Regions from separate parts of the Homo sapiens genome. Here regions 2, 3 and 4 are each linked to region 1. Evidence: promoter capture Hi-C in human tissues and cell types (Jung and others, 2019). All regions are on one chromosome and are shown on one strand. Each heading gives the region's core, a stretch centred on a gene start or on the middle of the fragment in contact. The rest is flanking DNA. Distances are from core to core; before and after follow the strand shown.

Region 1 (2,700 bases), core at 16-2,515:
AACATTTACCATGTGGTATCAGGCATCTTTCCTGATAAGACTCTGTCTCCCCTCAAGACTGTGAGCTTGTTAGCAAGAAAGCCTCTATCTTGTTCATGGTTGTCCTTCAGCATCCAGCACATTGTTGCCATTTGTCAAATGCCTTGGCTGGGTGGCAAATAAATAACTTAGTCAGTTACTCACATAGGATTGCATAGAATTTTTTTAAGTATGACATTTTTGTGTATATTTTTAGGGAGGAGTAAAAGACATATAGCTGTAGCAAGAATTAGAAAAAAGAAGATGCCAACAACTTTTCTTTTTAAGCATCAAATCCTTCTCATTACTGCCCAGAAAAACTGGCATAAGCTGTTGTTAAATCTGTGCCCCTTCTCCTCGGTTGACTGGAGTACGAGTTTTAACATTTTGCCATTTTGACTTTCCTTTCTGGGTCCCCTGGGTCCTCTCCTCCCACCCCCTCCCTGGGTACTAAGTTTTCATCACTGTCACCACGGCAACAGCAAGGATGCCTCATTCCTCACAGTTCTGCACAGCTAAACTCTGGTCGCCTTTGTCCACTGAGCTAGCTGAATTCTTTTTAAATACACCACTAAATCAACTATCTGCTGTACAGAACTTCATCCATTATTCAACCTTTAAAAAAAAACAAAAACAAAAACAAACAAAAAAACAAAAGAAAAAAACTGATGTATACTAATTTCTTCTCCTGGGAATGGCCTTTTTCCAGACCTGCCAATACTCTTGAATACACCATACATTTTTGGTCCCTAGGAACAAATATAAAAATTGCCAGTGTACGTGCGTCCAATGTAAGTGTGGTGCAATTTTAAAGCACGCAACAGAGCATTCATAATGGGTTTCCCTTTTAAAAGCACAGTAGACCAAAAATAAACCTGACAAAGGGCAGCTGTAGAGTTTTAACACGTGGAAAACTCCACAAGCAGCAGTTATGTAACTTGAAAGAAACATGATAAATATTTCACACCATTAGATGAACTTCCAACTCTGACACTGAAAAAAAAGCAAAGAACAAGAACGCGAGACAAATGCACCTCAAATCTCCAAGGAGCAAAAAGCTTAAACTGAGAAGGGACCAAGGCTGTACTAAAATCTGAGACCTGACTTCCAGCACGAGTCTTGATTGCTTTTTTTTTTCTCGAGTTCGAGGCGGAGCCCGCGAACCCCATCTCCTCAGAGCGCCACCCCCTCAGCTTCGCCCGTTGGGCAGAATTTTCCAAATATCTCCACCCCTAGGCTGAAAAGCCAGAAAGAAGTTTTGAGCCAACGAGGGGAAGAAAGGAGTTGGGGCAAAACAGGAGGCGTTTCCCTACCCGCATACATCCCCGTCCCCGAGACACCCAATCCCCCCACCCCCAGCCTGCCCGCGCCTCCCGCCCCCAGCTCCTCGCCCTGGGGACAGCTGGCAGCCCCGCGCGGACCAGACACAAAGCCGATCAATCCCGGAGGCGTGGGGGCGGAGGGACGACCCGCCGGGGCTTTCCCGGGCGCTGCTCTCCTCCTGCTGCCCCCTCGCTAGGACCCGGCGGACGCCTCGTCTGGTTTTCACGCCCTCTAGCCCCTACCCCCACACCCCCAAAACAGAACAGACCCCCATCCCTGGGCTGGAGGACCCGCCTCTTGGCAGCCAGCTGAGAAGGCGCCCCGGGGAGGGGGAAACTGACATCCCATCTAGAGCCGTCCCTCCTCTTCCTCCCCTCCCGACTCTCTGCTCCTTTCCCGCCCCAGAAGTTCAAGGGCCCCCGGCCTCCTGCGCTCCTGCCGCCGGGACCCTCGACCTCCTCAGAGCAGCCGGCTGCCGCCCCGGGAAGATGGCGAGGAGGAGCCGCCACCGCCTCCTCCTGCTGCTGCTGCGCTACCTGGTGGTCGCCCTGGGCTGTAAGTTGCTCGGGTTCCTCTACCCTTCCTGCCTGGACCAGCCTGCCCCCACCCTCCAGCCCCCCACGGGGCGCTGGCTGACAGTGTCTGGGCGGCTCTGGGCCGAGGTCGCCGCGGGGCGTCTGACCTTGCGCCCAGGCGAGCGGGAAACCCAGGGTGCCCGCGAGCGGACGCTGGGAGCAAGGGAGCGCGAGGTCGTGGGTTTCTTGTGAATTGCGTCTGATTTTGTCAGTTCTAGATACAGAAAATTAAGGGTTCCCACTAGCAGGTTCTCATCTGTTTGCAAAGTTGGGGTAAGTTTTCAGACAGAGGGACGTGATTCGAATGCAAAACTCACTACCCACTGGTAAGATGCTAAGACCCCAAGAAAGATGGCATCACTGGGAGGCGGGCGCCGGCCACACTTTGAGTCCCCGGGGAGGGGGCAGCGTCCGCGTGGTCTGGGCTCTGTAGCGTCCCAGCTGAGCCGGCGATATGCAGCGCACTTGTGGGGCGGAGGTGGAGGGAATTCGTGGCTGCTGAGCCAGAATTACTTTTATCCTCTCCACCTGCACATCTACATTCACTTAGAGAAGTCTGGTCTGGGGACTCTAGCCAGCTGCTCTGTCCTCAGGGGACATCCAACGGGACGATTGTTAGAAAGATTCAGAAGCCACATGATCCAGTAGCTGGGGAGACGTCCCAAAGCCAATTTCACCGGATGATTTTAAACAGGATTTTCACGGATTCTGGACTCATGAGATTTGAAATCCTGGGAACGTTGCCGTTATTTTGTTTTCTTCGCGTTAACTTTTTAGGAAAATG
Region 2 (2,700 bases), core at 150-2,649, 230 kb after region 1:
CCCAGGTGACTTGTACCACAATTTGGGGCAACAGAACATGCATTTAATGTTGGGTATAAACTTTTAATAATTAGAAAACTGAGAATGCCAAGAAACTATTACATGGTACATCTGTATAAGAGTATTTAGAATAAAATGTATGTGTTTTCTTAACACAAATCAAGTAATTTTGGGAGTTGATAAAAGGCTAATAGTTCAGAAAATTAAAATTATATGTTAAAGTCTTCTATGAAAAATACTTAACATAATTGCCATGTGAGAGAGCTGGTAAACATTAATGAAATTTCAAAATCAGTGCATAGAAGAGGGACATGGTCGATGGTTGAAAGTAAACAGCAGACTGGCCAGAAATCTGATTACAAAGACCATGCAAAAATGAATAGGGCCTGAAGATACCAAATTCCTTCTGTTTTAAACCAAATTGATTTTCCCCTAAAAGAGTGTTAATAAAATACTTCACATAGTGAGTTTAACTTTTCTTTCTCAGTCTCTAAGTTATCTGGTATACCATTGTTTTTGATGAATTGCTTCTTCCTTAGTTTATGTTTTGTGTCATTTCAATCTAAATTGGTTCAAAGGGACACCTTCAGATTTTCTTCATTGGCAATGACTATTGAGCCCCTATGAGAGTACAGTAGTCCCCCCTTATCTGAGGGACATACCTTCTAAGACCCACAGTGCACATTTTCTATACATACATACCTGTGAGAGTTAATTTGTAAATTAGGCGGAGTAAGAGATTGACAACAATAACATAATAAAATAGAACAATTGTAACAATATGCTGTAATAAAAGTTATGTGAACATGGTCTTTTTCTCAATATCTTACTGTAATGTACTCACCCTTCTTGTGATGATGTGAGATGTGAGATGGCAAAATGCTTACGTGCTGAGATGAAGTGATGTGAATGACGTAGGCATTGTGACTTAGCATTAGGCTACTATTGACCTTCTGACCTATTGTCAGAGGGAGGATCATCTGCTTCAGGTGATTCTGGATCATTAAGCCACAAGGATGACGAAGGTTGGGAGTCAGAAACAGACAGTGTCAATGACTGATGGGTGGGTTGTGTCTACAGTGTGAATCTGCTGGACAAAAGGATGATTCCTGTCCAGGGCAGGACAAAGCAGGACAACATGAGATTTCATCTGAGATTTCTCCTCAGAACCACGTGCAATTAAAAACTAATGAGTTGTTTATTTCTGAAATTTTTCATTTAATGTTTTCAGACCATGGTTGACCACAGGTAATTGAAACCCTGGAAGGTGAAACTGCAGATAAGGAGGACTACAGTGTTCAACTATTTACAAATAATGACAGTGGCCACAAAGATTACCTTGAAAAGAGACCGTGAGACAGTTTCACACAGACTGTGCCTGGATTTCCATGAGTCTCTGCCAACTGCTTTTTAAGGTATTATACCATATAATAATGTTTTTTAAATCTTTTAGTTGGAAGTGATTTTTTTTTTCTTGAGACAGAGTCGCGTGCTGTCACCCAGGCTAGAGTGCAGTGGCAAGATACCAGCTTACTATAACCTCCGCCTCCTGGGTTCAAGCGATTCTCCTGCCTCAGCCTCCTGAGTAGCTGGGATTACAGGCACCTGCCATGATGCCTGGCTAATTTTTGTATTTTCAGTAGAGATGGGGTTTTGCCATGTTGGCCAGGCTGGTCTTGAATTCCTGACCTCATGTGATTCACCTGCCTTGGCCTCCCAAAGTGCTGGGATTACAGGCATGAGCCACTGTGGCTGGCATTTTGAAGTAATTTTAGACTTTAAAAAAGGTGCAAAAATAGAATAGAGTACTCCGTATACTCTTCATCCAGCTTCCCCTGTATAACTATAGCACAACATTTTACATAACTATAGCACAGTCATCAAAACCAGGAATACAGTACTGTTTCAATTTTAAAATAATGTGCCTTAGCTGATGATGTTCTTGCTATACTTTTCTTTCTCATCTCTTTAAGTCTTTGTTGCTTCTCTTCTTCAGAAAGAGTAAAATTGAATTCTAGAGAGGTCCACTCATAAGAGGCAGACCTGGGCAATGAACTCGTTTTTTTGCCCTGTGCTCTTGAAACTGGATTCTCCTTTCTCAACAGCGTTAAGCTTCAGTTCTCTATGTTGCCAAAAGCCAAAGTTTTAGCCTGGGGCTCAGAATATTGGCTTATTTTTCCTGTATAAAGAACTGTCAGACTCTTCTTGACAGGGGTTCATATTAATAACCCTAATCTCCATCTCACGGTAGAACATGCTGTCTACTTAATAAGAACTTTTGCCCCTTTTCTGTTAATGCCATCCCTTTACACAAAAAATGAAATACATATATCATGAAGCTAATTATGTTCAGCTTAAATATTTATTTCAGGATGGTTCTAAATCCTATCTCTGGTCTGGTTTAGTGATTTTCATAATGCTTAGACATGATGACCATTTCAAACTGAAACCAAGAAAGAATATGAATATTTCTTTATAAAAATAAAAACACTTTTCTTTAATTAAAATAAAACCAAGAAGTTTCATGTGAAAGGTCACATTTCTAGCTCGTGCTGTGTTGTCAGCATACTCCTCCAGCCTTCTTCTCTCTCTCTCTGTGTGTGTGTGTGTGTGTGTGTGTGTGTGTGTGTGTGTGTGTGTGTGTGTTGTTTTGGGAATGTGTATAGCATCTTATCAGGAGCTGTTGGTTTGAGGTCAATG
Region 3 (2,700 bases), core at 86-2,585, 150 kb after region 1:
GGCAAGATTGTGAGATGTCATTGGTACAATACACACCAACTAAGAATCCTTGTTTCTGTTTTATGCCTATGAACCAATAACAGTGATCAGTGTGGGGACATTTCATTGGAATTCTGCCTGAGAAAAAGCAGGAGTGTTCAGTCCTTCAGCGCCACCAACAGCTCTGGATGCCAAAGGACCATGCTGGTAGGGCTCAGAGTGCTCAGACAGAAGTATGAGGCAGAGTTTCATGGGGAAATGAGATGGGTCTGAGATGGGTAGGAAGAGGGGGAAAATGGGCCTCTCAATGCTCTCATAGCCTCTTAATGCTCTCAAAACAGCCACTGAGGCAATGAAATTTTTTTTTAACTTTTAGGTTCAGAGATACATGTGCAAGCTTGTTATACAGGTAAATTATGTTTCAAGGGGGTTTGATGTACAGATTATTTTGTCACCTAGGTAATAAGCATAGTATCTGATAGGTCGTTTTTTGATCCTCACCCTCCACCCACCCTCCACCCTCAACTAAGCCCTGGTGTATGTGGTTCCCTTCTTTGTGTCCATGTGTTCTCAATGCTTAGCTTCCACTTATAAGTGAGAACATGCAGTATTTGGTTTTCTGTTCCTGCCTTTGTTCACTTAGGATAATGGTCTCCAGCTCTGTCCATGTTTCTGCAAAGAACATGATCTCATTCTTCTTTTATGGCTGCATAGTATTCCATGCTATATTGTACCACATTTTCTTTATCCAGTCTACCATTGATGAGCATTCAGATTGATTCCTCATCTTTGGTACTGTGAATAGTGCTGCAATGAACATGCACATGCATGTCGTCTTTCTGGTGGAATAATTTGTATTCCTTTAATTATATACCCAATAATGGGATTGCTAAGGTCGAATGGTAATTCTAAGTTCTCTAAGAAATCACCAAACTGCTTTCTGCAGTGGCTGAACTAATTTACATGAGCACCAGCAATGTATGTATATGAGCATTCCCTTATCTTTGCAACCTCACCAGCATCTGTTATTTTTTTACTTTTTTATAATAGCCATTCTGACTGGTGAGAGATGGTATCCCACTGTGGTTTTGATTTGCATTAATTAAAAGAGATTTATTTATTTATTTATTTGAGACAGGGTCTGGCTCTGTTGCCCATGCTGGAGTACAGTAGTGTGAACAGGCTCACTGCAGCCTCAACCTCCCAGACTCAGGTGATCCTCCTGCCTCAGCCTCCTGAGTAGCTGGGGCTACGGGTGTGCACCACCACGTCTGGCTAATTTTTAAATTACTTGTAAAGATGGGGTCTTCCTATGATGCCCAGGCTGGTCTTGAACTCCTGGGCTCACGTGATCCTCCCACTTTGGCCTCCCAACATGCTGGGATTACAGACGTGAGCCACCACAGCCAGCCTGAAACGAGTTGAAAGGCACAGGGAGAACCCAGGTTTCTGTGGACTCCACCAGGACATGATGGAAAATGGACCTTGAATGAAATTCCTTGATTACGTGGCTAGGAAGACTCCTGGTATCTGCTGTGGTAACTTCAAGCCACAGAGGAGAGACAGAAAATTCCCTGAGTCCGGGGGATAATAGTCATGACAAGGGTGAAACAGAAAACGAAAAAAAAAGAGAGGAAGGGTTGATACCTGTTGACAGAATAAACACTACAAAGGAAAATCATCCTTGTAAAGTAAATTCTGTCAACATGAATCTTGTTCGTCAAATTTGATTTTAATATTGAGAGTAAGATAGTTTTCAGTTTGTCTGCTGGGACCATGATGAAGCACTTTCTTCATCTAGAATTTCCCTGGTGATCTTTCTGGGGATATTTTTCTGTATCCCAAGCTTTCAGCAAATTTTGATGTGTTGCCCACTTTGTGTGAAGAGAGATACAAAAGAAGCTTATGTGACCCCTGCTTCCCCATGTGCAAGACAAAACTGGCCCCTAATGAATTGAGATGAGATTCCCAAGATTTGGGGACTTCATGGAAGGGTAAAATTACAAAACAATAACAATGTTCTAGTTTTCTAAGGCTGCCATAACAAAGTCCTATGGACTAGGTGGCTTTAACAACAGGAATTTATTTCCTCACAATTCTGGAAGTTAGCAATCCAAAATCACGGTTGGTTTCTTAGGTCTTGAGGGAAGGACCTGTTACACACTTCTCTCTCCTTGACTTTTGACGGATTTCTTTTCCATGTGTCTTCACATCATCATCTTTCTTTTTCTTTCCCTCCCTCCCTTCCCCTCTCTCTCCTTCCTTCCTTTCCTTTGTTTTTTTTTTTTTTTTTGAGAGAGTCTCACTTTGTCACCCAGGCTGGAGTGCAATGGCACTATCTTGGTTCACTGCAACCTCTGCCTCCTAGGTTCAAGCGATTCTCCCACCTCAGCTCCTGAGTAGCTGTGATTACAGGCACATACCACCACGCCTGGCTAATTTTTGTATGTTTTGGTAGAGATGGGGTTTCACCATGTTGGCCAGGCTTGTCTCGAACTCCTGAACTTAGGTGATCCGCCTGCCTCGGCCTCCCAAAGTGCTGGGGTTATATGCATGAGCCGCCACACTTGGCCATGTCATCTTCCTTCTGTTGCTTGTCTGTATCGGAAGTTCCTCCCGTTATTAAGGATACCAGTCAAAAGGTGGGTTATTAGGCCCACCCTAATAACCTCATTTTAATTAATTTACCTTTTTAAAGACTCTATCTTCAAATACAGTCAC
Region 4 (2,700 bases), core at 132-2,631, 190 kb after region 1:
GCCCCTTAGCAATTTTAAGGTAACATATTAATAGGTTATTGGGATTAGGACATATACACCACAGATTGACTATAGATTTCATGTTCCAATTCATTCATTTTTTTCACCAGAGCCACTGAGGAAATTTTTAATATAAGTCATGAAAAACGATGGGGCAAAATTGGAATTGCATGATTCCTTGCTTCCAGTAAAAAAAAAAAAAAAAGGTTAAGGATTAAGTAAAGGACTAATTTAAATTGGGCTCCCTACTCCAACCAATTATTCAGATTGTCTCATTTGATAGCCTCAGGGTGCTGCTGATACTGAATAATTTGATCCTTGTCTGGAATCTTTTCCTTGACTTCATTATTATACTTGTTCTTATCTACCTCAGGTTGAAATATATGTGATGGTCATGGCAGGTTTCTTGATAAAAGAATTTGGCTTGTTTTTTCAACCCATCACTAGAAGGTACCTTTTGGAGCTATCAGGTCATGGGGAAGGCTGTTCTGGTAAGACCTGTCCAGACTTAGAAAACCATGACAATTAGCACCCTTAGAAGAGGAAAATTTGGCTTAGAGGCAGGTAACAGAGACTCTCTTTAGAGAAAGAAAGGGTTATTAAATAATCTAGTGCAACACAATCTAATAGAAGTACAAAATAAGCCACATACATAATTTAATTTATCTAAAAGCCACATGAAACACAGTTTAAAAAGCAGATGAAATAAATGTTTATAGTATATCCAAAGTATCATCATTTCAACATGTAATCAACATAACAAATTATTGTTAAGACACGTTTTAAGTTCTTTTTCTATACACTATGATTTAGGATCTGGTGCATACTTCATATGTACAGCACACCTCAATTCAGTCTAGCCACATTTCACTTGTGCTACAGCCACAAGTGGCTGCTAGCATCTACTACATTGGTTAGAGCCTAGTAGAAGCTTATTGTACTTAATGGACATCTTTAGATAACCTTGTTTATTGAGTCCTTCACAGCATTCTCTACTCTTATCCACATCAGTTCTAAAGCTTGACGCCCCTTAGATGAGATAGTGGCCACAACTGTCTGCCTCAACACCAATGTACTACTTCCTTTTCTCTTGGCAATATCCACTAGAGAAGCAAGAAAAAGTAGCACTCACCTCCCCATTCTTCTTTGCAGCTAGGGGTGGCCATGTGACACAATTGTGGTCAATGAGTGGTCAGCAAAATTATGATCAAGGGTTTCTGGTAGCTGGTGCCTCCCCTTCCTTCTTCTGGGTGTTCTGAATGTGAGGCCTGGAACTGTAGAATCCCGAATAATCTCAAAGACACATGGGCTGACACCATGAAATAATTGAACCAACGCTAACATTCACCAACCTCCACATTTCTTTCTACAAAAATCACTGGGCACAGTGGCCCACACCTGTAATCCCAGCACTTAAGGGAGGCAAGCCAGGAGTTCAAGATGAGCTTGGGCAACAAATTGAGACCCTGTTGCTAAAATAAATAAATAAATAAATAAATAAAGTTAGCTGGGCATGGTGGTGTGAGCCTATAGAGTAGGCTACTTGGGAGGATCACCTGAGCCCAGGATTTCAAGCCTGTGATAGTGCCACTGCACTCCAGCCTGGGTGACAGAGCAAGACCTTAACTTTAAAATAATAATACACTGGGCACGGTGGCTCACACCAGCACTTTGGGAGGCTGAGGAAGGCAGATCACTTGAGGTCAGGAGTTCGAGACCAGCCTGGCCAACATGGTGAAACCCTGTCTCTACTAAAAACACACAAAGTAGCCAGTGTGGTGGCGTGCATCTGCAGTCCCAGCTACTCAGGAGGCAGAGACATGAGAATCACTTGAACCTGGGAGACGGAGGCTGCAGTGAGCTGAGATGGTGCCACTACACTCCAGCCTGGGTGACAAAGCCAGACTCATCTTGAAAATAGTAATAATAGTAATAATAATAATAATGAAGAAAACACCATAAAAACCTTAATTATTTAAGCCATTGTTCGTGGATTTCTCTTTGACTTGCATTTTATTTCACCTCTAAGTGATGCAAAACTTTCTGGAGCCTGCTCTGAACAGACTACACTCCTCGTTTGCCCTCTGGCTTCCTGCTAGCTCTGACAATGGGGCACTACAGGGAGACAAGAAAGTAGGAGGAAGGAGAAAAGACTCCCATTTTCCTTTTTTGTTCCAATCAGGGTTGTCCTGAAATACCTAGGGGGATTTCTAATTCCTTACTGGACTCTGACTGATACATCCCCTGCGGCCTCTTCTCTACATGGAATTTAGAAAGATAGTTTTAGGCTAGGCGCAGTGGCTCACGCCTGTAATCCCAACACGTTGGGAGGCCGAGGCAGGTGGATCACCTGAGGTCAGGTGTTCGAGACCAGCCTAGCCAACAGGTGAAACCCCGTTTTTACTAAAAATACAAAAATTAGCCGAGTATGGTGGCATGCGCCTGTAGTCCTAGCTACTTAGGAGGCTGAGGCAGAACTGCTTGAGCCCAGGAGGCAGAGGTTGCAGTGAGACGAGACTGCATTACTGCACTTCAGCCTGGATGACAGAGTGAGACTCCATCTCAAAAAAAAAAAAAAAAAAAAAAAAACAAAAGATAGTTTTAAAGCATAATTCAGTTCATATATACAGTGGCTTCTGATATCAATAAAAATGAAACCCAAAGTTTCTTCTACAGCCAGTGAGATGTTATTTCTTTGAT

What was found. The method cuts DNA at HindIII sites, captures the fragments that hold promoters and counts their contacts. A contact is called where the count stands out against the background at its distance.
Region 2: a contact is called between a fragment that was not itself captured here and the fragment with the promoter of JAM2 in region 1, in 2 of the 25 tissues and cell types used here (lymphoblastoid cells and mesenchymal stem cells).
Region 3: a fragment that was not itself captured here is called in contact with the fragment with the promoter of JAM2 in region 1 in 4 of the 25 tissues and cell types used here (H1 embryonic stem cells, dorsolateral prefrontal cortex, lymphoblastoid cells and 1 more).
Region 4: a fragment that was not itself captured here is called in contact with the fragment with the promoter of JAM2 in region 1 in 2 of the 25 tissues and cell types used here (adrenal gland and lymphoblastoid cells).

The regions. Positions count from the first base shown.
Region 1 is chr21:25,637,993-25,640,692 of GRCh38, forward strand. It overlaps JAM2 (junctional adhesion molecule 2), which reads left to right and starts at 1,266. Exons shown (of 10, transcript NM_021219.4): 1 at 1,266-1,896. The coding sequence starts at 1,830. RefSeq lists enhancers at 899-1,038, 1,776-2,276, 2,179-2,248 and a silencer at 1,259-1,448. The HindIII fragment of the contact is 5,846 bases long and covers 1-2,267 here.
Region 2 is chr21:25,862,912-25,865,611 of GRCh38, forward strand. LOC105372756 (a long non-coding RNA gene) reads left to right here. Exons shown (of 3, transcript XR_007067828.1): 2 at 1,232-1,415. Among named protein-coding and RNA genes, the nearest start is that of GABPA, 130 kb to the left of the region's middle. The HindIII fragment of the contact is 5,320 bases long and covers 1-2,700 here.
Region 3 is chr21:25,791,372-25,794,071 of GRCh38, forward strand. No RefSeq gene overlaps it. Among named protein-coding and RNA genes, the nearest start is that of GABPA, 58 kb to the left of the region's middle. The HindIII fragment of the contact is 4,893 bases long and covers 1-2,700 here.
Region 4 is chr21:25,828,663-25,831,362 of GRCh38, forward strand. No RefSeq gene overlaps it. Among named protein-coding and RNA genes, the nearest start is that of GABPA, 95 kb to the left of the region's middle. The HindIII fragment of the contact is 4,908 bases long and covers 1-2,700 here.